Linked DNA regions of Homo sapiens: regions 1, 3, 4, 5, 6 and 7 are each linked to region 2. Evidence: promoter capture Hi-C in 16 types of primary human blood cells and fetal thymus (Javierre and others, 2016). All regions are on one chromosome and are shown on one strand. Each heading gives the region's core, a stretch centred on a gene start or on the middle of the fragment in contact. The rest is flanking DNA. Distances are from core to core; before and after follow the strand shown. Region 1 has its middle 12 kb from the start of LINC02957. Region 2 holds the start of AUH (AU RNA binding methylglutaconyl-CoA hydratase). Region 3 overlaps SYK (spleen associated tyrosine kinase). Region 4 holds the start of LOC105376143 (a long non-coding RNA gene). Region 5 has its middle 28 kb from the start of LINC02957. Region 6 overlaps LOC105379829 (a long non-coding RNA gene). Region 7 has its middle 6.0 kb from the start of LINC02957.

Region 1 (3,265 bases), core at 678-3,177, 350 kb before region 2:
GGAAAATAATAATGAAACGCTAATTAGAAAATTCCCATATGTTTGGAAGGTAAGGGATAAATTTCTAAAGCACTCAAGGATCAATGAAGACATTACAATGGAAATTAGGAATTATTTTGAACTTGATAACAAAAATCTAAACACTTGTGAGATGCAGCTAACACGGTGCTTAGAGGGAAATTTTAAAACTTAAACAGATACATGAAGGAACATAAATAACTAAATACCAAGTGGTCTAAGTATCCATCTAAAGAAATTAGAATGAGATTACCAAATTAATTTTTTTTTAAAAAAAGGCAAAGTTGGAGAAAGAGAATAAAATGAGAGGACAGAAATTTATGTAATAGAAAATAGACATCTAATACAAAGGCTCAATAAAGCGAAAGTTCTTTCTTTGAAAGAAGCAACTTGTCAAACTCCTGCTAAGACTTATCAATGTAAAAAAGAGGACACAAATCCCAAGAATCAGAAATGGAGGTCAGGAGGGGGGCACATCACTATAGCTTCTGGAGATAGGAATGTGATAGTAAGATGATAATTACAATAAACCAATAAACTTAAATTTTTAAGAGAAAAGTAAACAAATTCCTAGGAAACTCCAACTCACCAAAGCTGACTCCAGAAGAAATAATAAACAAGGATAATCCTTTAATATTGAAGAAATTAACACCATAAATTAAAACCTTCTCTTAGAGAAAACTCCGGACCCAAATGGCTGCCCAGTGAAAAACTAATGCAAATCTTACACAAACTCCTCCAGAGAACAGAAATCAATGAAACCCCCAGGAACCTGTTTTCTGAAGCCTGCATGACCTTGACACCAAAACCAAGCAACATCATTGTAAGAAAGGAAAAGAACAGGCAAATTCCTCTCATATATATAGATGCAAAAATACTTTTTACAGGGAAGGGAAGGAAGGTGAAGGGATGAAGAAAAGTTGATTCATGTGTACAAGAATATCGTTAGAAGGAATAACTTCTAGTATTCTATAGAACAGCAGAGAAATTATAGTTAACAATAATTTATTGCATATTTCAAAATGGCTAGAAGAGAAGAATTGTAATGTTCCCAACACAAAGAAAATATAGTCTTGAGATGGTGGATATTGCAGTTACCGTGATTTGATCATTACATAATGGATACAGGTATCAAAATATCACATGTAGCCCCAAAATATGTATAGCCATGATATATCAACAAAAATACAAACAACATTTTTTTTAAATAAACGAGTGATGATTGAGAGAGACAGGAGACTTTCGAGAGCAAAGTGGCAGGGTCCTCTTCACTGTGGAGGTTTGTCAGGAGGTCAACTTTGGCTGGCTGGTGTGGAGCATTCATAGAGTGTCCTGTCCTCCCTCACCACCTCCTGCCCAGCAGCCTGTATCACATAGGCCTTGTTGCCATCTGTGGTCTGACTCCACCCGCTTTTATTTGTGGTTTGGGAGACACCTTATCAACTCATTTTGTTATGTTATTCATAGATAATGAGTTTTTATTATTTCAATTGCTCTGGTTGGATTTGTTGAGGGTTTCCAGAACATTCACAATTATGCCACCACTGCTGCCTTCTTATGCCTTCTTACTCAGGGTTTAACCCACGCCTTTAATATCAATGCTAGTGCACAGTATGTATGCTGCATTGTTTTTACAGCAATTCCACCATGGATAGATATTCAGATTGTGTTCTGTGTTTTTCTGTTACAATAAATGCACGAGAATATCTTTGGGCATATTTCTATTTTTTTAATTTTTGTAAAACATATTGCTAAAAGTGGGATTTCTCCATCATAGAGTTAACAGATACTGTCAGATTACTTCCTCTAACATTTGGGGCAATGCACACTCCCATCTGTAAAATCAGGGAGTACAGTTTCTCTAAATCCTTTCCAATATTGGATCCTATAAACTTTCTCTAATTTGTTAAAATTTGATAGTAAATTTGGCATTTTGTTGTTTTAATTTTAATTGTCCTCATACTAATGAGGTCGAGAGTTTTAATTTTCTCTTACTTTTTGCATTTTCTCTTGCCTGTTCATATCCTTTGATACTTTTCAACTGGACCTTTATTTTTCCTTTTCTGAAGAAGTTCTTTGTATATGAGAGATATTAAACCTTTCTCCACATATAGTTCAAATGTTTTACCCTGTCACTTGCTATTTGACTCTCTCTGTTTTTTTGCCATATAGAAATGATTAACTTCCATCGTGAAACCAGCCTCTGTCTGCCTGTATGTCCTTTGAGTTTTGTTTGTTGCTTGACAAGGCCTTTTTCACCCCAAGATTAGGCAACATTCTTCTATATTTTCTTCTAATACTTGTATGGGTTTGTTTTACACTTAGTTATTTGATATGGTTTGGATCTGTGTCCCCACCCAAATCTCATTTTCAATTGTAATACCCAATGTTTGGCAGTGGGGCCTGGTGGGAGGTAATTGGATCACAGGGATGGTTTCTCACGGTTAAGCATCATCCCCTTGGTGCTGTCTCATGATAGAGTTCTCATGAGATCTGGTTGTTTAAAAGTGTGTGGCACCTCCCTGCTCTCTCTCTTGCTCCTGCTCCTGTCGTGTAAGACATGCCTACTCTCCCTTTGCCTTCCGCCATGATTGTAAGTTTCCTGAGGCCTCCCCGACCATGCTTCTTGTGCAGCCTGCAGAACTGTGAGCCAATTAAATCTCTTTTCTTTATAAATTACCCAGTCTCGGGGTATTTCTTTACAGCCGTGCAAAAATGAACTAATACATTATTTAAACTTGGACTTTTTGTGCACGGAACAAGGTAGGAGTCTATCTTTGTTTTCTTTCAAGTGACTGATTGTTGTTTACTTAGAATTAATTCATTTCCACCTCCTCCTTACTAACGAAATCTCAAACTTGTTCAGAACATAAACTCTCTGCCATATTCTTCAGAGAAAGATAATCCTAATCCAGAGATTACATTAGGTTGTCTAAGCTCATAGCTCTTTCCAGAGACTGGCTCAAAAATTGGCACGTGAACCAATTCTGGTGGAAAAGATGTGAGGAGTGCTGTGCTGGGGGATTTGGGGAAGGTTCTCCCTTGCTCTTCTGGGTCCACGTGACATGCTATCATCTCTCTTCCTCAGAGAAGGGGCCCTGAGTGGGTGTGAGGCCTGGGGGTGCTATGGCATCTGCCCGCCTATGCAGAAGGGTCTGGCACAGAAGAGGCACCACTGAGAGACTCTCTGGGAGTGGAGGCAGAGCCATCAGAAACCCTGTTCTGAAGGCCTGCATCTCTACGGTTC
Region 2 (3,254 bases), core at 6-2,505:
CGAAACCCTGCAGGTATTACAGCCCTTTCCTCTTACCATGCCTTGAAAGTTCACACAGCCTACTAATAACCAGGATCTGCTTCACTACACTAAAACCAATCACGACTTACACGCTTTTCACTTCTGCTTAACAGATTATAGGTGCTCAACAAATGCATGTCAAAATTAAAACACTGGTCCTCTGGCTTAACCCGGAGGTTAAGGGTGGAAACTGCTATTCCACCCTTCACGACCCTTTTAGCTTTTCCCTGCACTGCCAGTGAAAGGAACTGAGCTGTAACAGTATTCCCTAGGATTGTCAGCCTCCTTCAAAGCCTTCAAAGCTCTGTATTGTATTGCTAATGATGTCTCCTCCCGTAGAAGGTAGCTCAAGGGCAAGATCCATACCATCCACATTCTTATCGCCAGAGCTGAGGAAAATAAAAAGTGCTCAAAATTGTTTAAATGAAGTGGAACAGTCCCTCAAGACTAACTTTCTAAGAGAAAATGAACAAGAGGAAAAATTGTTCCAGCTGAGCAGCTTCAAATTTAAGATTCTCCGTAATAATAAAAGGCAGTTTCACCGCAGCTTTTACAACTCCACCACTAATAGCTGAGTTTACAGAAAGCCATTACACAGCAACAATAAAGCCTGGTAGCAAGGATTAAATCCCCAGGGTATATATTGACCTTGGCTTGTCTGGAGCGGAGGGCGTAAGCTGCACTTCTGTTTGCCGCGCTGAATGCGGTCACTTTACAGGTAAGCTGCTCGGGGGTACACGTTTAGGTTATTAAAAGCAAGAAATAGGTGCACAAGGAAGCGGCCACGCTGGGTGAGTAGGGAGGTGAGAAAGGGGAGGGACCCAGGTTCGGTGCGCCTGCCTGACCTCGACCCCGCGTCCTGCCGGCGGACGCTGCACCTTATGCCCGTCCTGAGAGCGAGCGGCCGCCCGCTGCCCCGCGCCTGCCCAGCGTTCGCACCTCACCTCGGTTCTCCTCCTCCAGGTGCCGCACCCGCAGCTCGTCCTCCGTCTTCATCTCAGAGCTGTAGCCCCTTTTCGGGGCGGGACCCCCGGCCGCAGGTACCCAGCCCTGGGCCCAGATCGCCGGGCCCGCTCGCCGGCCTGCCAACGAGCCGGGCAGCCTCAACCCCGGGCAGAGCCACGCACTGCAAGCGGCCACCAGGCGGGCGCCGCCAGCATGCAGGGATCCCAAGGCCCCAGGTGCCGCCGCCACCGCGGCCGCCATGTTGTCTGTTTACGGCGTGGACCTGCGACGGCCGCTCCGCCCCCGCCCGGCGCCGACCTGCCGCGCGCACGCGCACGGCGTCCGGACCCGCCGCCTCGCTCCGGCTTGGCCCCGCCCTCCGGAGCCGTGTTCCCGCCCCTCACTGCCCCGCCGAAGCCCGGTGACCCGAGGCCTTGCCCCATTCTCCAAGCGAGATTGGATGGTTTGTCCAATACAAAAGGAAAGAAAGTAGTTTTCCAAGGTTATGGAATAATTCAGGGAAGACTTTTCTATAAGAACCACCCGGAGGGAATTATCTCCCCGTACTCCCTGGACCATGCCCTGCGGTCCTGTGTTAAGTAAGCTGCAAAAGTGAACAAAAAAGTTTTGTCTCCTCAAGTTGGCTGAAAGTGTGGCAGCCCATCGTTGGTCACTGCCTTACTTATGGATCTCAGGTTGTTGGTTTAGCGTCCCTGATAAGCATAAATGATGTTTACTACGTGGCGTTCAGGAAAAGGATGAGAACAGCAAACAGGCAAAGGAGTTCTTTCTCCAGCCCACCCACTCGTACCGATGTCCCATGGCCCTTCCTGGACGGAAAGAGTCTTACAGGGGTTCAAACAAGCCATACGCTGAGATGGGATTTAGAGTATGTAGCTCTTCCAGAAACTCGGGATATCAATTTAGTGTGTAGGTACTCATCAAAGCACGTTGCAGTATAATTAATGCTACCTAGCTTTTATCAGATCTCTAATGGGAAAGCTTGCATTTAAGAATACTGGGCAGGGGGCGGTGGCTCACGCCTGTAATCCAAGCACTTTGGGAGGCCGAGGCAGGTGGATCACCTGAGGTCAGGAGTTTGAGACCAGCCGGGCCAACGTGGTGAAACCCTGTCTCTACTAAAAATACAAAATTAGCCAGGTGTGGCGGCACACGCCTGTAATCCCAGCTACTCGGGAGGCTGAGACAGGAGAATTGCTTGAACCCGGGAGGCGGAGGTTGCCCTGAGCTGAGACTGCACCATTGCACTCCAGTCCAGGCAACAAGAGTGAAACTCTGTCTCAAAAAAAAAAAAAAAAAAAAAAAAGAATACTGTTTGAAAAGTGTGCTGCTATGAGCATACGTCTAGTGCCACAGAAATTTCTTGTATTTTTTAGTCCTAAGCAAAACATCCTTCATTATGTCCTCAACTTTTATCCAATGTAGAAACAAAAAGTAGACTGAATTCCATTACTGCATCTGCTGTAAAATGATGTTGAAGGCACTTTTATTTTTATTTTTATTTTTTATTTTTTGACAGGTTCTGGCTCTGTCGGCCAGGCTGGAGTGCAGTGGTGTGATCGCCTCTCGCTGCAACCTCTGCATCTCAGGCTCAAATGATCCTCCCACCTCAGCCTCCTGAGTAGCTGGGATCACAGGCACACACCACCACACCTGGGTAATTTTTGTATTTTTAGTAGAGATGGGTGTTTCTATGTTGGCCAGGCTGGTCTTGAACACCTGACATCAAGTGATCCACCCAACTTGACCTCCCAGAATGCTGGGATTACAGGTGTGAGCCACCATGCACAGCCCACTTTTTATTCTATCTTTTGTAAAGTTCCATGCAGGAAAATTTTCCTGAAGTTTACTACAAGGAAAACTTTGCTTCCTTTGTATCTTTCCTCTTTTCTGATAATGATGTACATGTTGACTGCTGGGTGTTGTGATTTTTATTGTTATGGTTTCTTTCTAATTTGGTCTTGTGGTCACCAGAGGGAGGGTAAATCTGGAGGTGACAGGGAGTTCAGCCAGTGGAAGGGGGTCAAGGAAGGGGCACTTGTGGAGCTAAAGCCTCTGTTGGGGTCCAGCGTGTTACCCAAGCAGTTTCCCATGGAAGTTCTAATTGGTGAGTTTAGAACAAGCAGGCACAAGTTCCATGGAGTCACCCTGTCACTGTGAGGTGGTCACTGGAGCCCATCTACACAGTCCATGTGGGTTATGGAGGTCAACAGGTGAGTCAAGCAGGCTGCATTTACCTGTCCCATAGGGAGATGGTCACCAGGAAG
Region 3 (3,523 bases), core at 331-2,830, 470 kb before region 2:
AAAAAAAAGGATAAAGTTCACCTTTTCATGAATCAGGAATGTGCCCGCTTTCTAAACAAACAACGGTGGGGGCTGGTCTTGCTTTAGAGACCTTGCTTTCTGGCCCATGCACTTACATGTAGTAGAGCCTAAAGAGCAAGTTTAGATGGGGACTCTAACCCGAGTGTCCAAATTTAAATGTCGATAATGGTGGAGAGATGGGGCAAGGGCAGTCAAAGTAAAAAAGTGTTTGTAAGAGTTTGGGGCTGGATGCCATTTTTGGCATAGAGGATGGCAGAAGCACTCGGTAGGGGATGGTATACTTTCCTGACTCCCTGATTACCATGAGCAGTGAGGGGTGACCTCGGACTCTGGCCAGCTCACAGATACATTGGCTAAGGTTGCACTTCCCTAGAATCTACCTCATCCTTGAAGTGGTGGCCTCAGTCCACCCTGACTGCCGTCATACGTCTCGCTTAGTGGATCCCAGGTGCTGTTATGCTTTTAAAGTACACCTGGCATTATTCTTAGGTGATGTTCAGGGCAGCTCAGCAAGGAAGGAAAATGCATTGCCACTGAAAATTAGGAGTACAGTTTTGCCAGGCTCAGCAGCCTGCTTGTGCGTGCATAGCACGGTGACCCCAAGCCGCCATCTCCAGTTCCCTGGTACTGAACTGTGCACACAGAGCCCACACAGCTGAGAATCGATGTGGTTTGTGATCAGGAGGACATCACAAATCCTGGCCATGGATTTGATGCTTTGCGGAATCAGGTTTGCCTTCAGATACAGCTGACATTGCCAGAGCCTCTGAAAGATGAGGGCTATTCCAAATGCTGCAGATGCCACCTGGGATTCCGAGACCTCCCCTCCCCACCCTGGGAGTATCACTCTACCACAATTGTGAGTGACAGGGAAATAATCTCATTCTGTATCTAGAAACCACCCAGGGGGCAGCCACAAAGGCAGCAGGCAAACTGTGGGTATATGCTTCCCTGCCCCTGCTGCTGCCGTGGCTCAGGAGAGGAGCCTGGCCTGGGCCCCGGAGCATCTTCTCCAACCCCAAGTGTTAGTGCAACAGGGAGAGCTAAGTGTCAGCAAGAGGGAAGTGCTACTCATGGATCTAAGAGGATGTTTATTCCTAAGTCTTGGCTTAATTCTCCCAGTGCCTAAACTAGAATCGTAAGAACCATTGGCAGGTAGGCACTGGCAGCACTGGACCCTGGGGAGGGCAGCCCTTGGGCACGTGGCAGCCTATGACCCTTTACTGAAAGTGTTCTTTGGTCCAGCCTGCAGCTCCCTTTGCAAGGCTTCCCTTCTTGTAGAAGGGTGAGGAGGGTAGAGTTTAAAACATTGTGATACAAATGCAAAAACTTTGAATTAAAAATGAACTCGCAGTGGGGGAGTTTTTGCATTTAACGTTGATGCTGATCTATGTACTTCTGTCGATTCTTCTTTGTGGTGTGTGTTTAACAGTGAGGAGTGAAAGGTGGGTGGGAAGAGAGCAGGGTGCGCAGCCAGGGGCACCACCTCCCACTTGGCTCCCAGGTGGGTGCAGTGAGGCTGCTGAATACCCTTTGGGCTCGTGGTGTATTCTTGTGACTCAAGGAATCAGGATAGGGGCTGCTGGGCCGACCTCTGTCCTCCATGGACGCACGTAACAGTGGGCAGTTATTTCCAGAGTGGTCCACCAGGGGCAGACCGGGGAGGGAAAGCAGTCTACGTGATATTCACTGGATGTTCACCAGAATTACAGCAAAGTAGAGCAGTAGAACAGTCTCCTTAAGAGAGTATTCTTTCTAAACGTATTTTCCCGCCTGGAGATTTAAGATGGAACCTGAGTGAGGTTCACAGGCAGGCAATGTCTTTCCCCTTGGTTCCCACCCCAGTCCGCTCTGCAGGGGTGCATTTCAGTGAGTTCTGCAGGCTTGGAGGAGTCAGCTCCAGGGCACAAGCCCCAGTCAAAAGGAAATCATGACAATGGCCCATGCCCCATATTAGAAATCACAGCTCTTTATCAGACTTTGATTTATTTCCCAACAAAGCTATATTTCTGAAGGTTACAGTGTTTCTAGTAGTGACCTCAAACAGGGTTGGGGGAGGTGGGGAGATGTTCTGAAACTTTTGAAGCAGCTGTGTTTGTCTGGGGTAATACCTGAGCTCGTTGCCTCACGCCAAGGAAATCAAAGATGCAGACACACAAGAAGTGAGTTTAAGAGCAGAGGTTTAATAGGCAACAGAAAAGAGAAAAGCTCTCTTTCCTGCAGAGAGACAAGGGCTCCCAAGTGGTTCTTCCGGCTCCGTGTGGAAATGCAAGGGTTTTATAGACGAGCTTGAGTCTGATTACATAGGGCCCAAAGATCGGTTGGACAGCCAGGCCATTTACATAACACGAAAAGAAACTGGCTGCCCCACCCTAATCTTTTATTATGCAGATGAGGTCTCTCCTTGGCCGACGCCATGTTGCCTGCTTTTTTTTTTTTTTTTTTTTTGAGACGGAGTCTCACTCTGTCGCCCAGGCTGGAGTGCAGTGGCGCGATCTGGGCTCACTGCAAGCTCTGTCTCCCGGGTTCACACCATACTCCTGCCTCAGCCTCCCGAGTAGCTGGGACTACAGGCGCCCGCCACCACGCCCAGCTAATTTTTTTGTATTTTTTAGTGGAGACGGGGTTTCACCGTGTTAGTCAGGATGGTCTCGATCTCCTGACCTCATGATCCGCCCGCCTCAGCCTTGTTGCCTGCTTTTTTACTGCACACGTGGCAACAAGGAAAGTGGAAGAGGGAACCTCCATGTTGAATATCCCTGGCTCCAGGGATCCCTTTTCTATTGACACAGCTGCCGGCATTTACCTATGTGAGCTTTTAGCTTGCTTAGCTATGCTTGCAGCTTGATTTTTCAGGCTGCTTTTTGTTATAAAAGACATGATTTAGGAGCTGCTTTTTATTGCAAGGAAACCTTACAGAGGACTCTGTTACCCTCACTATCTGCCTAAATAATTTCTTTCTAGCTCTGAATCACTTTGTCTAAACATAAGAAATTCAATGAGGTGCAGTTGAATGAAAAAAAAGGAAAAGATTCCTTGGAGCAGGGCCACAAGGAGAACTCAGAAGCGCCAAGGGCTGGTCCTGGTAACCCAGGCTATTGCTTGAGGCCCTCCAGAAGATGCAGGGGGTCCCTCACTGCAGGCATTGTCATCAGTTCCAGGGTGTGGTCCTGGAGGGAATTCAAAGGGACTTCCCAGCCTCAATGACAAAGCCCTGAGAAGGCAGACAGCATCCCTCACCCTTGTAAGACAGCCAGAGATTACCTCCAACCCCTTTTTAGTCTTAATGGACTCTTCAGCTGGACCTAGAAACCAAATTGATACCAGGCCAGATTAACAAAAGAAAAGCTTACCAATTTTACTAGTTTTACATGTTTATGGGGATCCTCACAAGACAGTGAAGTCTAAAGAAGTGGCCAAAACAACATGCTTTTATAATCTTTAGACAAAGAACCATACATTTAAGGAGAAATGACAGGACAAATAAAATCTGGCTAGAAGG
Region 4 (3,552 bases), core at 921-3,420, 430 kb before region 2:
ATTGATTTAGAAAGTGCCGACTTCCTATCTGCTGTGTAGATCAAAGGTATCAATCCACTTAAAGGGCTTAGTTTAACACACAGCACATGAGAAATGCTCAATATATCCTTGCTATTCTGATGGCTTTCCATCATCTGTCCTGCTAAGCAAAGAAGTCCAAGATGTACTAAAAGTTACAGAAGTGATAAAGAAGTGCTAAAAGTTACAGAATAGTAAGCTTTCTAAAGTCCCACTTGTGTAAAGATAAAGTAAAACAGAAGAATATGCTTGTATATAATTGTATATGCAAAAATATTTCCTTCTTGGGAAGCAGGGGGTGAATAGAGATTATGTTAAACTTTGACACTTAAAACCTAAAAATAACACGTTTATTGTAGCAACCTTGGAGAACAAAGAAGATCACTTGTTATTTAAAGTAGATAGGCTGAATGTCAAACGTGTTTAGGACTTAAAGGAAATCCCTTTAATGAAAGGAAATATGGTTCCAAGTAATTAAATCCATGGGCTGCCTTTGTGCTGTAGTTAGAAAATAATCTAATATGGAGGAGGGAAAGGAGGAAGAAAGGCTGAATTTCAGGGGCAGGACAGCAAATCCGATTCCAGCTAATACTCACCTTCCAGGAGTTTTTTTTAAAGGCCAATGAAGAAATTCCTATCATTAATAATAAAGAACATCCCAACACTAGCATTTCCAATTTATTGTGACCTGTTGCGCATAGAGACTTACTGACTCATGAGAAATGCACCTCTTTTGAAGAGTCTTCTAGATGGATGCATCATTTCTGCACTCAAGATTGTGTTCCATTGTGCAAAGAGCTACTCTAGGCAGCCTAGTGGACATGCCGGATGACTCCACCCATGGTGCTTCCAGCAAGAAGTTAGACAATGGAGTGGGGAGAAAGGATGCTGGGCTTCCTCTGGCTCTCAGATCACCCACCTTTATTATGATTAGGAAATTGGAAAACCAGCCACAACCAAATGCTTCAGGAATACCTCGCCTTAGGAGCTAGGGACCAAAAAGAGGCCCAGAACTATGAGTGTCTGCTACTTGCTCATGAGCAAAATGGCTGCTCCAAGCCCTGCTCTTGACACTCACAGAGCCACTGCCCAGAAATCAGGACCTCTTGCTAAAACTGCTGCAGAAAACCAGGACCTCTCCACTGTGCTTCACAATGGAAATGGCAGACACGGCAAAGCGCAGCCCCCACTCCCTTCTGTCCTGTAAATGGCAAGTAAGTGCACCTAGTCAAAATGAAATAAAATCAGGCCCAGAATCTAGCTGCAAGGGAGTTTGGAGAATGTCATTTTTAGTATTACAACTTCTGCACACAGGCTGGAGAGTAGAAAGCGTGCAGAGCTCTGGTCCGCCAGGATCCAGTGCAACTCAGAGTGCAGATGCATTGATTTCCAAACAAGAATTGCTGTCAATTGACTGCAGGGTAGACCATAAGCATTCCGGGTCTCATGGGACCGCACTTGTCTCTCTTCTTTGCCTGCGAGATCTCCCCCAGCTCCTGTACTCAGCAGTAGTCACCCCTGCAGTAGGTACTGTGAAGGAGGATGCTGAGGTCAAGGAAGAATCTTCAGCCTCAGAAATGTCTTTGATTGTGAAGTCACAGAAGCTGCCTGGGTGGCAGACTGCTTGTGCACTCCTGTGCAGATCAGGGGCTGCAACCCAATTCTTGCCCCACAGCAGGTCAGTGAGAAGGCAGACCTACAAATCAGCATGTGCTTGCTTCATATGATTTGTCTCATTTAACTGGCCAGACAGCTGAGGCTTAAGTGGTGTTATCAAAATACCAAGGCTGAAATAAATCAACATAACAGAGTTTTAGAACAAATAATCAATATAAAGATAATTAAAAGTAAATACATAATCTGAAATAATTTGGGGGAAATAATTCAGGAACAGAATGAAGAGGGAAACCCTCAGGTTCTCCTCGAAATATTGTAAGTGAGTCAGAAAACAGGACCAGTAATGGCAGAGGCAGAAGAGCGGCAGGAGACGGCGGTTACCCCACAGCAGAACGCTGCTCTGTGAGAATCCCCCAGCAGGTACCCCATTCCAGCTGTGGTTCGCCTACAGGCAGTCAGCCTCCCTGAACCTCTGCAGAGGGCAGGGATAGTAGATCTGCCCTTTAAGACCCATGCAGAGGTGCTGAAATGACAGTATTGGTACTCTGGATACAATGGAAAGTTCATTAGGGCTGATATTAATGGTAGTCACTGTCATATTTTCAGTTGCTTTCAGCAGTATTTGGGCCCCAGGATACTGATGTTTGCTCAATACATGAGCCTGCAGAAGTAACTGGGAGCAAACACCTGATATCAGTATTAAGCATGTGGTGCCGAGAACAATATGTTACAGAATACTGCAGACCCACTTAAATCATTCTTTTGTCTAAGAATGTGGGGTGTTCAGTGGATAAGTGAGAGTCCATGGATTTTGCTCTATGGCTGATGAAAGGAACGTGATGTGTGACATTTAGCACCGGTGTCAGGAATGGCTCTCCTGTTGGCAAACTTATTTCGCACGTGCCTATTCATCATCTATCCTGGGCACCTCACTCAGGTCCTCATGAGTCCCCTGTCTTCTCAGCAAGCATTACCTCTCTACTCAGACCAAGGCCTTGTGAGGGATGGAGGGTCACTAAGATGCACTTCCTGTCCTGAAGACATTGTCAGTCTCCTGGGGAAGACGGACTTCAAGAGAACAAAGACGAACACTGGATCCCTACTGGATTTGGAGGTCTACAGAGAGGGCTGCATTTTGTCCAGAATTTGGAAGGTAAAAATGGCCAGAAAAATGCAGAGAGGGAGGTTCTAACCCAAAGGAGCTTTATCAGTCAGATGTTCAGTATGGTGCTGCTGTAACCAACAGTTCCCTTGGAACTGACACGTGTCATATGTTTCCCCAGCTTATCAGACACAGGGGCCAGGAACAGAAGCCTCCCACAAGCCCAGAAGGACATACTTAATGCACAGCACTGATTGCTACAGGGACCAAGATGGGGACTTACAGGTGCATTTGGGGAAGAGGGCACTGGCCAGAAGGCCAAATCCACGCAAGGTGTGGGTTTGGGGAGGAGGGATGTGTCATAACAGAGTTCCCAGGAACAGCCTCTGACTTGTGCATAGGCAGTAGACTGGGGGTGCCCCGAGGGTCAATGCCCATAGGGAGTAAGGAGACAGGACTGGGTAGCAGGAGAATTTGAGCTGTGGAGGCCCAAGGAAAGGCTCAGCTGGGGGCACTTCAGGCTTGTCCTAATGCACCAGGCTAGACCTTCGTGCACCTCCTAAACCAGCCATTGGATGGGGGCAGCTCAAGGATGGGGTAGAACCTGGCTGAGGGCAGGCCCTGGGGAGGGCTCAGCTAGAGACTTCAGTAGCATTGCTCCAGCAGGAGGCGGATGTGGGTGCCAGCCACAAAGGAGTGTCCTATGGAGCACTATTGTCTCCAGCACAGAAGAAAGCCAGGGGCCTGGAGATGCCAGGCTAGAGATTCTCAAGCAGTCATTCTTGTATTGCTAGAACCACAGGGGCAGAAGATTT
Region 5 (3,597 bases), core at 105-2,604, 390 kb before region 2:
ACCCCCCGCCCCCGCCCAGAGCTGCTTCTACCAGGCCACACACACTTCCATTTACATTTCAAAGAAAAGTTGCTTTATGTTTCTCTTCACGTGTTTTTTTTTTCTTTCTGCCTTCTGTGTTCTCTAGATCAAATGAAGAAAGCCCATTTATTATTTATTCCAGGTATGTCCTAGATGCATACAATTTCTTCCCAGTGATTATTTAAGATAAAAATGAAGATTGGGCTTTATCTTTTAAATGAGAGTCAAACAAGCACCCTGGCTTGTTAACAGAGAAGTCAGTGCCATACCCTGCATTGCTTCTGCAATCTCCTTAATCTGCTCTTTCGTGGATGCATTTAGTGAATCCACCTGGCCCTGATTAACTGGGCTTTGTAAAGAAAGGCCCCTCACATGGAGTCAGACATTGAAAGATATTCAGTGTTTTAACATTGAGTGGGGAGGCAGGGAAACAATGGGAATTCTCTTATAGTAATGATCCATTTTAGGTCACCTTTCACCATTGGACTACATGAGTTGGGATATAGGCTGCATGGCTATAACAAAGGCCTGAAAATACAGTGGCAGAAATACATTTATTTCCCTCAAATACAAGACGACAAAGGCAAACAGCCTGGGCCAGTGTGACTACTCTGCCACTTTCAACACATGGCTTCTATTTCTGGGTTCCAGGCAACTACTCCAATTTCCTAGATTGAGGGGTCAGGGGGAGGAAGTAGTGGACATTTCCCTTTTTTCCTAAGGCACACATCGCTTCTTTTCTCATCTCATTGGCCCAAACTTGGTCACATGGACATGTCTAGCAGCAAAGGAGTCTAGGAAATGCAGTCTCTAGATGAAAGTCTAGGCATGCAATTAAAATTCTGAGGGTTTCTATTCCTAAAAGGAAGAAAAGATGAATGGATGTTGGGAACAGTTGGCTATCTCTGTCCTGCACTAATACATTTATCTTCTTGGTTTCCCATGAAGAAGCAGAGATCATGGGAATTGCTATGGGGTAGCACTTGTTATGGACCAGGGATACAAGTTGCCACAGCAACCACACTAACTGGCTGGTGCCACCCACAATGTTATCTTTTTTTCTCTACCCTTTGCATAAGTGATGTCTCTAAATGAGCAAGATTGTAAGAAACAAATGCTGTGGACTGAATGTCCACTGTTTCTTGGTCATTGGTTCTCTGTAACAGTCTGTTAGTCTTTAGAGCCAGATACAACTGGGTTCAAATCCCAGCTCTGCCAATAGCTATGTGGGGGCCTCAGTTTCTTCACCTAAAAATTAGATACCCTATTACTTGCTGCCTAGGGTTAACGTGCGGGTAAAGTGAAAGAATGTAGGTGAAGCACAGTGCCTGGCACTTAATAGAAACTCAAAAAAGGGTCCTAACCATTACCATTACCAGGAAGGACATACTCTATAAGAGCCTGGTTTGCCAGTCTGATCAACAGATTTGTGTCAATTGTGGCAAAGGAGACCCTGGGGACCTCCAGAAGCCTCCTGTGCTGACTCTCCAGTGCTTACTGGGTCCACCTCTAGGGCCAGCCTCACCCACCACATTGGCTTGAGGTGCAACTGGAAAGTCTGAGTCAATTCATTCTTCCAATGCTGCCCCAAAGAGGGTACAGACTTCCCACCAAGCCCTACCTCAGTTGACTTTGGCCTTCCTAGCTTAGGCTGAGCCTCTTGGGAACACAGCAGCCAGCACCTGGCTTCCGCGTGCAGTTAGACACCCAGAGATGAGCCGGGGGAGTTCAGAACGCCTTCTCCCTGTGAGCCATGTGGTGGCATGCTTGACTATTGCGATGTTGGCTAGACACTCTGGCTTTGTAGGAGTCTGGGATTTGGGGGTTATCTTCTTCAGGTCACATGGCCCTCGTTTAGAATCTGGGGTCCCCCAGCCGGGATTCCCATCTTTCAGAAACACCTCAGCCAGCTTAAGGCATCTGCTCCAATGGTCTCCATGACAACCCTGAAGAGCCTGCAGTGAGCAGCCAGCAGAACTTGCCAGCCGAGAGGCTCATCCCACTAATTGGATAATGTATATGAAAGAGCTGATCACACCTGGCACCTGAATCAAAGGGTGAACTCACCAGACATGAATCATGCCAGCCTGTTAAGTAGGTACAAGCGTTTTTATTCCTGGCCATAGGAGCAGCCTTGCTTGTAATTAACCATCATCCCTAATATCTGTCTAATGCCCATAACACCCCCGAGAGGAGTTTTGTCATTCTTATTTTGTAAATGAGTAAGATACAGAACTTAATCAGAACTCAAGGATTCTTATTTGGTGGGCTGTTTAAGCTGGAGTAAATGTTTGTTTTTTACTGACCATCATGATGTCAACATTGCCTTTAAAAAACAGGGAATAGAAGAAGAAAAGGAAAAAAGGAGGGAGGGAGAAAGAGAGAAGGAAAAAAGGAAAGAGAAAATGGTGATTAGATGGTGTGGTGTGGAATCAACATAAGGTTACCAAGTGTGTATGATTTCACAGATGTTAAATACCATGACTACTGCTATTAACTACTCCCGCCACATCACCACATCTGCAGAATCTAAGACAAGAATGTGAGAAAAAACAATGACAGTCCTAAAGGACAATTGGCAACTTGGATCACCATCCCCCCAGGGTCCCCATTTTCCTAATTTCCACTTAGAGTAGTTACAACTTGAGCATTCCCACACATAGAAATCAAAGGGCCAGGCCTCAGCACCAGGCTGCACCCAGTACAGCCAGACTCCCTTCTTGCTTCATTACAGTGGGCTTGCATTTGCCTCCAAGGATGTCCAGGGCTCTGGAAACCAAACCTTCCAGCCTTTGGACTTTTTCAGCTACAAAATATGGATCAAGTATGAACTAGTAACAACCCATTAAAATATATGTGTATGGTTTGGAAAAGATCATGTATTTTAAAGTGAAAGCAAAGACTTAGCACTGAGTAAAAGTTAAATATTTTTGTTCAATTCAGTCTGAAAATAGAAAAACAGAAAGTGGTGTCTAAGAGCTTATGGGCATGAAGGAAATCAAGCTTGGGCAAAACAATCTTCAGTGAAATTTTATAGCTGACTCACAAATCCTTACAAGGCAGAGGGTGTTAGTATTAGGGATACGAGGCAGCGCTATTAATTGTGCTATTATGCACCTGGTGAAATTTTAGGAAGGTAAATACGTGAAAGAGGACCACTGAGCCTGAGCTTTGCATTAAGGGATAACACTGCTCTTCATCCCGGGAGGGCAGATGTCTTGATCCTGGCTTTATGATGGCATGACACACACATCCCTCAACACCTGACTCACTTCGTTGGCCCTGCTGATGTCCACAGGCAGCCACATGTGATGGCCTCAGTGCTGAGTGGAGAAACGCCTGCGGCTTTGGGAAGGACTTGCTGCAGCCTGCTCCTACCCCAGCCAGCCTCCTTCCAGCCCCATTGTTCTCGACACATAAGAGGCCTGGCAAGTCTCAACCCGGGTGTAAAGCGGCATCCCTTACCCTAGAAATACAGAAGTCATTTTTTTCTAGTAGCTAAGAAAGGCCTGGCGCTGCATTACAAGAGTTCATTCACATAAACAGTGAACGCTAGAAATCGAATTACACTTGGAT
Region 6 (3,492 bases), core at 163-2,662, 410 kb before region 2:
GGCAACAGGTTCAACAGGCTCAGAGAACAGTCTCCCAAGTCAAGGAGGGAACAGAGCATGAAGCCAAGGAGAAGTGTGGTAGAGAGGGATACTTTATTTATGTCCAAGGCAGATGGCCATGCAGTCGTGAAAGAAAAATCTTCTCAATAAGTGGTAGTGGCTTTGCTTCAGATCCATATGGAAATAAGAGAAAATTGCTACCTTATACCACACACACACATTTGCAGGTCTAAATATGAAAGTCAGAACACATCTTTTGAATAAAAATGTAAAAGAATATCTTCTTGAACATTGGCTAGAGAAAGACTAATTAAACAAGCAGTAAAATGCATGACCCATACAAGGAAAAACTTGATAAATTATTCTACAATAATTCTAAGACCCCCTAGTCATTGAAGACACCAGGAAGAAAGAAAAACGTAAGCAGCAAAGTGGGAGGAGATATTTGTAGTGTGTTTAACTTGAAGAAGATTTCTGCAAATTATTAAGATAATGACAACCATGTAGAAAATGAAACAAGAGACTTCAAATGACCAATAAAGATATGAATAGGTAATCAAGGAAAATTAAATGAAAATCACCATGCCCCATGCATCAGAATGGCCAACACAAAAAAGCCTGGCAGCACCAAGGCTTTGGTTGAGGTGTAAAGTTATAGAGCCCTACCACCCTGGAAAGGGTTTAAGTCAGTACAACCACTTGGAAAGACTGCTTGGTGTAAATTATTAAAACCAAGGTCATGAAGAATGGAGGACCCAGCACATTTACCTCTGGGTATGTCGGTTCCGAACAGCATTGCATGGACAAGTACACCAAGAGGTAAATACAATTCTTGTGGCAGCAGTGCTTTCTACAGCCCCTAATTGAAAATGATCCAAATGCAAATCAATAATAAAGATGTATTCCTAGGTATGGAACTACACAAGAATGATCTACAGCTAAACATCATAGCAAGCCAGATACACCAGAACGCTTGCTGCACAATTTCATTAAGATAAAGATCAAAACCCAGCAAAACTAAGTCAACTATTCAGTTGCTAAGGGACAGCAAGGAAATGATTTCTATAAAAGTTGGGATAATTGTTACCTTTCGGGGCAGGTCCTCTGGGAGTGGCAAAGTTATCCTTTCGACCTGAGTACTGGTTATGCAGGTTTACTTTGTGGATAAATTATCTTGGTCCTGTGTACTTTTCTGGTTGTATTTTATATTTCACCATAAAGAGAAGATAAAAGGAAAATTGACACTCAACCCTCATTCAGTGAAGCCTTTGGGAATAGGCTCTGCCTGGTTTTTTACACTCCATGCCAACATCGACACGAGTGTCTACATATAGACGCTGCTGCATTTCCTTCTAGGTGCTGGATCTCATGGCTGATCATGTCTCTGGGTTTGATTTCGGCACACAAAGCTAAGCACTACCTGGATGCAACTGCAACCATTCAGGATGCAACTGCAAGCCCTTCTGTGAGACAAACTTACTTTGGGCTTTATTATTTCTTCTACTCCTCATTTTTCTATAAAACTTCCTCAGTGATTCATTTGATTCTTTCTTGTTATATATACGTATATTGTGATAAGTAATGTTGCTTCAGTTTGTGTAAGTAGCACTGTCTTTGCTATCTATTGTTATTGCAAACAACAGCCCTACAATTTACTGAATTGAAACAATGACAACTGATTATTCCCCATGACTTGGCAATCTGGGCTGAGCTCAGCTGGGCTGGGTAATAGTGTCTGATGTGGTTGGAACATCCAGGATGGCTTCTTCACTTGGCTGGGAGCTGCCTGGACATCCTTTCTCTCCATGTGGCCATTTTCCCAGATGGGTAACTGAATTTCCTTACCTGAGGCTCAGCACTGTAAGAGAGGGTGTCCCAGGAATATAAGCCCAACCTGCATGCTCTTATCAAGCCTGGGCCATGCTTTCTGACATCCACTGGCCAAATCAAGTCAAAAGCCAAGGTCACTGGGAAGGACAGCACAAGGCGGTGAATATCAGGGATCATCAGGGCCACGAAAATAAGCCCATCACGGATACATGGGAATAATCAAATGCATATATTCAGAAATGCATAGAGCAATAAAATAACTTGGAAAATATTTCTGTATCTCTGTAAAAGTTTTCCCTTGTTTGTCAATTTGACCAACAGCTTACTAGTGATCAAATCTCTACCAGTTTTAGCACATGTTCTCCATTTGCAGCATGACTGCTTAGAAAGTTTTCCCTAAGATTAGGCATTTTTATGAACACTGTGATGCTCATAAACCTCAGAGGTGGGAGATCCAAAATAAGTCTCAGGTCCCAGGGACCTAACATTAAAGGACACAGCTCCTCCAAAAAATGTGCAATGGGAGGAGAATTGAGGTGCCATGGGCTTGCCCAGGGCCTGGGCACTCCAGTTACCTTCCTGGAAGGCTGGCTCTGACCTCAACACCTTTCCTGAACTTCTCAGAGCAATCTCCTTGCTGCATTGTCCCCTCAGCCTGCCCCACTACTAGAAATCCCTGTCTTGGTATTTTGGTATTTTGAGATGAAAACCACAGAAGACAGTAGGAACTGCTGGGAAATTCACCTGAACAAACAGGACGTGAGAAAGCCCAGAAATAAGGCATCATCCTTAGACGAGGGGGCCATGCAGTCTGGGGAGGAAAGTGTCTGGACCATTCAAAATCTGGATTGCAAATCTTCCATCACCCCGCAGCTACTTCCTTTGTAACCCTCTGGAGCACGCTTCCTTCTCCACTTTCCCTCATAAGCATTTCTACATTCAGTGCCTGTAGATGGGGTGGCTGGCCAGGGTTCCAGACTGTTTGCTACTGCTGCTTCCAAACAGCTACAAGCTGCTGAGTTATTCCTCTTGTTGGTTGTTCGTGGAGCCACCATAAGATACCCACCACAGTCTCTGATCCCTGCCTGCCTGGTTGAGCTGTTATGCCACATCGTTTCCCTGACTTGGTCTCCATGCAGGGAAAATCATGGCGTCTTATTTAGCCTGTGCCTCAGGACTGATGCTGGCAGAACTGTTTAAACAACAAATAAATGTGCTTAAAAAGTCCTTTCATTTTGTCAAAAGAAGGGAACTAACAATTTATGAGAGCTTACTATATGCCAGATGCTTTATTTATTCCCTGACTTAGTTCTCACAAAAAACACTTGAAAAACATATCATTATACCTATTTTCACAGTCCTGCAAACTGAAGTGCAGAAAGGCCAAGTCAGTGGTATGCAAAGGCTCCACAGTCCTGATAGCGCTATAAGAACACACTTGAAAATGTGTTTCTGACAAATGTTCTGATCTGCCTAAAATACTTGAGTTTTTTTGAAAGGAAGAAACCATTGTTGATCTAATATCTAAGGAAGAAAGTGTTCTGTTTTGTTTTTAAATACTGGGAGCTGGTTTTAGGTAAGAAAGTCCGTGTGATATTTGGTAAGGATTACTAATCCTTAGAAAGAGACACAATTGGTGTCAATAAATAAGGCCAATAAGAA
Region 7 (3,643 bases), core at 38-2,537, 370 kb before region 2:
AACTGGGGTCTCTACTTAGGGTCTTTCAGGGCTGAAATTTTGGCTGGGCTGGGCTCTAACCAAGGTTCTGAGGAAGAGTCTGCTTTTAAGCTTGTTCAGGTTGATGGGAGAATTCCATTTTTTGCTATTGCTTGACTGACTTCTCCATTTCTTTGTTAGCTGTCAGTCAAGGGCCATTCTCAGCTCCTAAGGCCATTTGCATTCTTTGCTCCATGGCCTCCTCTATCTTCAAAGCCAGTAATTGTTCATCAAATACTTCTCATACTTGGAATCTCTCTGACTTCCTCTTCTTCTACCAATCAGATAAAACTCCACTTTAAAAAAATAGATTTAGGAGGTACAAGTGCAGTATTGTTACATGTATGTGGATATATTTCATCATGGTGAAATCTGGACTTTTGCGTACACGTCACTCAAATAGTGAACATTGTACCAAATAGGTAGTTTTTTAACCTTCACCCCATTCCCATCTCCTCATCTTTTGGAGTCTCTAACATCTGCTATTCCACTTTATATGTCCATGCATACCCAGTGTGTAGTTCCCACTTACAAGTGAGAACATGCAGTATTTAACTTTCCGTTTCTGAGTTATTTCACTTATGATAATGATTCCAGGTCCATCTATGTAAAACTCTATATTTAAAGGGCTCATATGGTTAGGTTAGGCCCACCCAGATTATATTTTTATTTTAACATCAACTCATTAGTGACCGTAACCACATAGGCAGGATTTCTTTGCTATATCACTTAACCTAATCATGGATGCTGCAATGGGGGCAGAGATCATTAGGGCCACCTACAGTTCTGTCCACCAGAGTACAAACTCTGGCCCCATAATTCACTCTCACTTGCAGAAAACATTTACCTGCTCCCCAAGGTTTCCAACAGTCTCATCCCATTATCACACTAGATAAAGTCCAGAATCTCACCAGCTCAAAAGCCCAAAACTCATTATCTACTTATCTGAATCAGGTGTAGATAAAGCTTCTGAGTGTCACCCATTAAGTACAGCTCCAGGGGCACAATTTGTCTCCACCTACACACCTGTGAAATAAAAGACACAAGGTATCTTTCTCCAATACTCCCAACACACAATGGTGGAAAGAATAACAGTTATAGAACTCAAGTCCAAAATTGGGGAAATGGAAGGTAAAAAGGAGTCATTTGTTTCAATCTGTTTTGAAACCCAGCTGGGCAAAATCCACCAGGTCTCAAAGCCAGGTAACCTGTGTCTCTCAGCTGCTCTGGGCTTTCATCTTCAACTTCTGGGCTCCTGCTTTAGCTCTTAGAGTCATGCTCCGTTTTTCACAAAAGGTGACAGGTGTTTGCAGCTGGGGAATTTTATCAGTCTGCTTTTGCCATTTTGTAATATCTATATTCCATTTAGTCCTAGTTGGCATCTTTATTTTCTGCTAATCTGTTTTGCTAAAATATTTCCACTAATACAATGTTTTTTTCTAAAGTGTGTGGGCCTTGTGTGTATTTTCACTGGGTTTCTCTGCATTAGACAAAAGCTATACACACAAATCTTTCTCTAATAATCTCTTCTCTATCTTTGGCTTCTGCTTGGAGTGCTGAACACCAGTGTTTTTAAGCTTCCCAGAGGCTCTCTGGTTTGATTAGAAGATCTACATGGAACACTCTTAATCCCTTGGAAGAGTCATTATGTGGCTGAATACACAAGACCTCTGAGCTTTCCAGGGTTTCAGCAAAGAGCTGCACAAACACATATTCAGCCTTTTCTCTATGTCATAATTTTGGCATCCATCTCTGACTTCTAGGGGTATTTTTTGCCACCTGGAGAGGCTAAACTTTTGAAATTATCAAGTCGTTGTCCCTTCAATAAGTCTTCCTTCAATATGTCTCTCTTCTATTACATTTTAACATAAAAAGCAAGAAAAAAACAAGCAGCACCTTCAACACTTTGCCTGGAAATTTCCTTAGCTATATATTCCAGTTTATTACTTATGAGTTCTGCTTTTTATGTAACAACTGGACACAATTTCACTAAACTTTCTGCAATTATATAACAAGGATCTCTTTTCTTCAGGTTTCCAATAACGTGTTTCTCACTTCCTTCTTGGCCCATGTCAGTAGTATCCTTAAAGTCCAGATTTCTACTAGCAATCTGTTTAAAGTGATTCAGCTTTTTCTATAATGCTCCTCACTTTTTTCTGAGACTTCACTGGCAGAGTCTTTAACACACATATCTCAGTCAACCAATCAAACTATTAGAGTCCTTTCTAACCCATCACTTTAAAACACTGAGTCCATACTCTCAGTGAGCCTGTATCAGTAATTTCAGACTGATACAACTTTATATTCCTTCCACTTTGATGCCACACCCTTAAGATCCATTCCCACACATATTCCCCAGGTTTCTGTCACTATAAGCTAGAAACATCACATAGTTCTTTTGGTGTCCATCACACCTCTCTGTGGGTCACAACTTGTACTTCACCTTAGGATCTACTGGGACTTGAGCCTCACGATAGGTCTCTAGGTCCAGAGGAGGATCAGCAGTGCCTATAGGGTCACTAGGTCAGAAAAGCTCATCATAAGTCTTCAGTAAAGGGGGGATAACCTCAGGCAGGGGGAAGAAGCTGCTTCTACTGTTGTACTGGGGGTCCCCAAGACCACTCCCCACCTCAGTGATTATCTAGGAGGACTCAGCATACAGTTGTACTCACTGTTATAATGTATTACCTCAAAAGGATAAAAAAGCAAAATCAGCAAAGAAAAAAGGTCAATAGGACAAAGTCTGGAGGAAACTAGGCACAGCTTCCTAGAGTCCTCTCCCTGCAGAGTCACAGAGCCTGGACTAATTTCTCCAGCATCTAGTTGTGACAACTCCTGTAAAATATCATCTACCAGAGAGACAGACCAGGGTTTTTATTGAGGGCTGTTCACACAACCACTGTCTGCTTAGCACATACCAAAATTCCAGAGTCCCAGAAGGAAAATCAATCTCAGCCTAGATCAAATTGTTTGCACAATCAGGTTAAACAGCGTGAGCAACCTTTGCCATTTAGGGAATAGGGAAACTCTCCCAAAATCCAAGTTCCCAGAAATCAACCAAGGCTCAACCTTATAAGCAGACCTTTCTAAGGAGAGCATTCTCAGGCCTTGCTCTGTTAAAACTCTTTCCTACACAGCTGTCAATGAAGACATGGTAGAATTTAGGGGTTTGAGGCCCCCAGTTTGCTTGCATCTCTTCCTATGTCCATACTCCAGTTTTCAAAATCCCACTTCTTCCCAGTCAGTGCTCTAAATTTCACAAAAGACAAATTGTGAGTTAATGAATTCAATTTGCTTTGTAATTAAGCCATGACAGAATCAGACTCTGAGTTTAACCATTTGCTACAACAATTGGGGGTGCTTCTGGCATTTGGTAGGAAGAAAATAGGGATGCTAGACATCCCACAAAATAACAAACTTCCCCTCATCCCATATGAATTTTGAATGCCCACTTGGATTTTCACATAGATGGAGCAACCTGCTTATAATGATCTGAGCCAATAATCTAACTCTTTACATGTAAATAGAAGGGATATTTTTACATGGGTTTAAAATTCATTGACTTTTCCAAGAATATATCCATTGTGTAAATTAAGAAGAGATTGTGCTCTGTTTTCCTTGGAAC

What was found. Contacts are between HindIII fragments. The CHiCAGO score rates a contact against its expected background, and 5 or more counts as called.
Region 1: a contact is called between a fragment that was not itself captured here and the fragment with the promoter of AUH in region 2, in 6 of 17 cell types (activated CD4 T cells, M2 macrophages, total CD8 T cells and 3 more). The highest score is 10.0, in activated CD4 T cells.
Region 3: a contact is called between a fragment that was not itself captured here and the fragment with the promoter of AUH in region 2, in 1 of 17 cell types (naive B cells). The highest score is 5.2, in naive B cells.
Region 4: a fragment that was not itself captured here is called in contact with the fragment with the promoter of AUH in region 2 in 5 of 17 cell types (activated CD4 T cells, naive B cells, endothelial precursors and 2 more); the score reaches 9.6 in activated CD4 T cells.
Region 5: a contact is called between a fragment that was not itself captured here and the fragment with the promoter of AUH in region 2, in 1 of 17 cell types (endothelial precursors). The highest score is 5.7, in endothelial precursors.
Region 6: a fragment that was not itself captured here is called in contact with the fragment with the promoter of AUH in region 2 in 1 of 17 cell types (activated CD4 T cells); the score reaches 6.4 in activated CD4 T cells.
Region 7: a fragment that was not itself captured here is called in contact with the fragment with the promoter of AUH in region 2 in 2 of 17 cell types (endothelial precursors and activated CD4 T cells); the score reaches 7.0 in endothelial precursors.

Annotation. Positions count from the first base shown.
Region 1 is chr9:91,007,442-91,010,706 of GRCh38, forward strand. No RefSeq gene overlaps it. Among named protein-coding and RNA genes, the nearest start is that of LINC02957, 12 kb to the left of the region's middle. The HindIII fragment of the contact is 4,761 bases long and covers 1-3,265 here.
Region 2 is chr9:91,360,663-91,363,916 of GRCh38, forward strand. AUH (AU RNA binding methylglutaconyl-CoA hydratase) reads right to left here and starts at 1,256. Exons shown (of 10, transcript NM_001698.3): 1 at 966-1,256. The coding sequence starts at 1,227. RefSeq lists a silencer at 987-1,426. The HindIII fragment of the contact is 2,357 bases long and covers 1-1,966 here.
Region 3 is chr9:90,888,695-90,892,217 of GRCh38, forward strand. All of the region lies in intron 13 of SYK (spleen associated tyrosine kinase), which reads left to right. Among named protein-coding and RNA genes, the nearest start is that of SYK, 89 kb to the left of the region's middle. The HindIII fragment of the contact is 3,574 bases long and covers 1-3,367 here.
Region 4 is chr9:90,930,252-90,933,803 of GRCh38, forward strand. LOC105379829 (a long non-coding RNA gene) reads right to left here. Exons shown (of 4, transcript XR_001746828.2): 3 at 728-1,805. It overlaps LOC105376143 (a long non-coding RNA gene), which reads left to right and starts at 2,700. Exons shown (of 3, transcript XR_001746829.2): 1 at 2,700-2,788; 2 at 2,919-3,022. The HindIII fragment of the contact is 3,910 bases long and covers 216-3,552 here.
Region 5 is chr9:90,967,462-90,971,058 of GRCh38, forward strand. No RefSeq gene overlaps it. Among named protein-coding and RNA genes, the nearest start is that of LINC02957, 28 kb to the right of the region's middle. The HindIII fragment of the contact is 3,335 bases long and covers 1-3,022 here.
Region 6 is chr9:90,947,197-90,950,688 of GRCh38, forward strand. All of the region lies in intron 1 of LOC105379829 (a long non-coding RNA gene), which reads right to left. Among named protein-coding and RNA genes, the nearest start is that of LINC02957, 48 kb to the right of the region's middle. The HindIII fragment of the contact is 4,284 bases long and covers 1-3,492 here.
Region 7 is chr9:90,989,225-90,992,867 of GRCh38, forward strand. No RefSeq gene overlaps it. Among named protein-coding and RNA genes, the nearest start is that of LINC02957, 6.0 kb to the right of the region's middle. The HindIII fragment of the contact is 611 bases long and covers 983-1,593 here.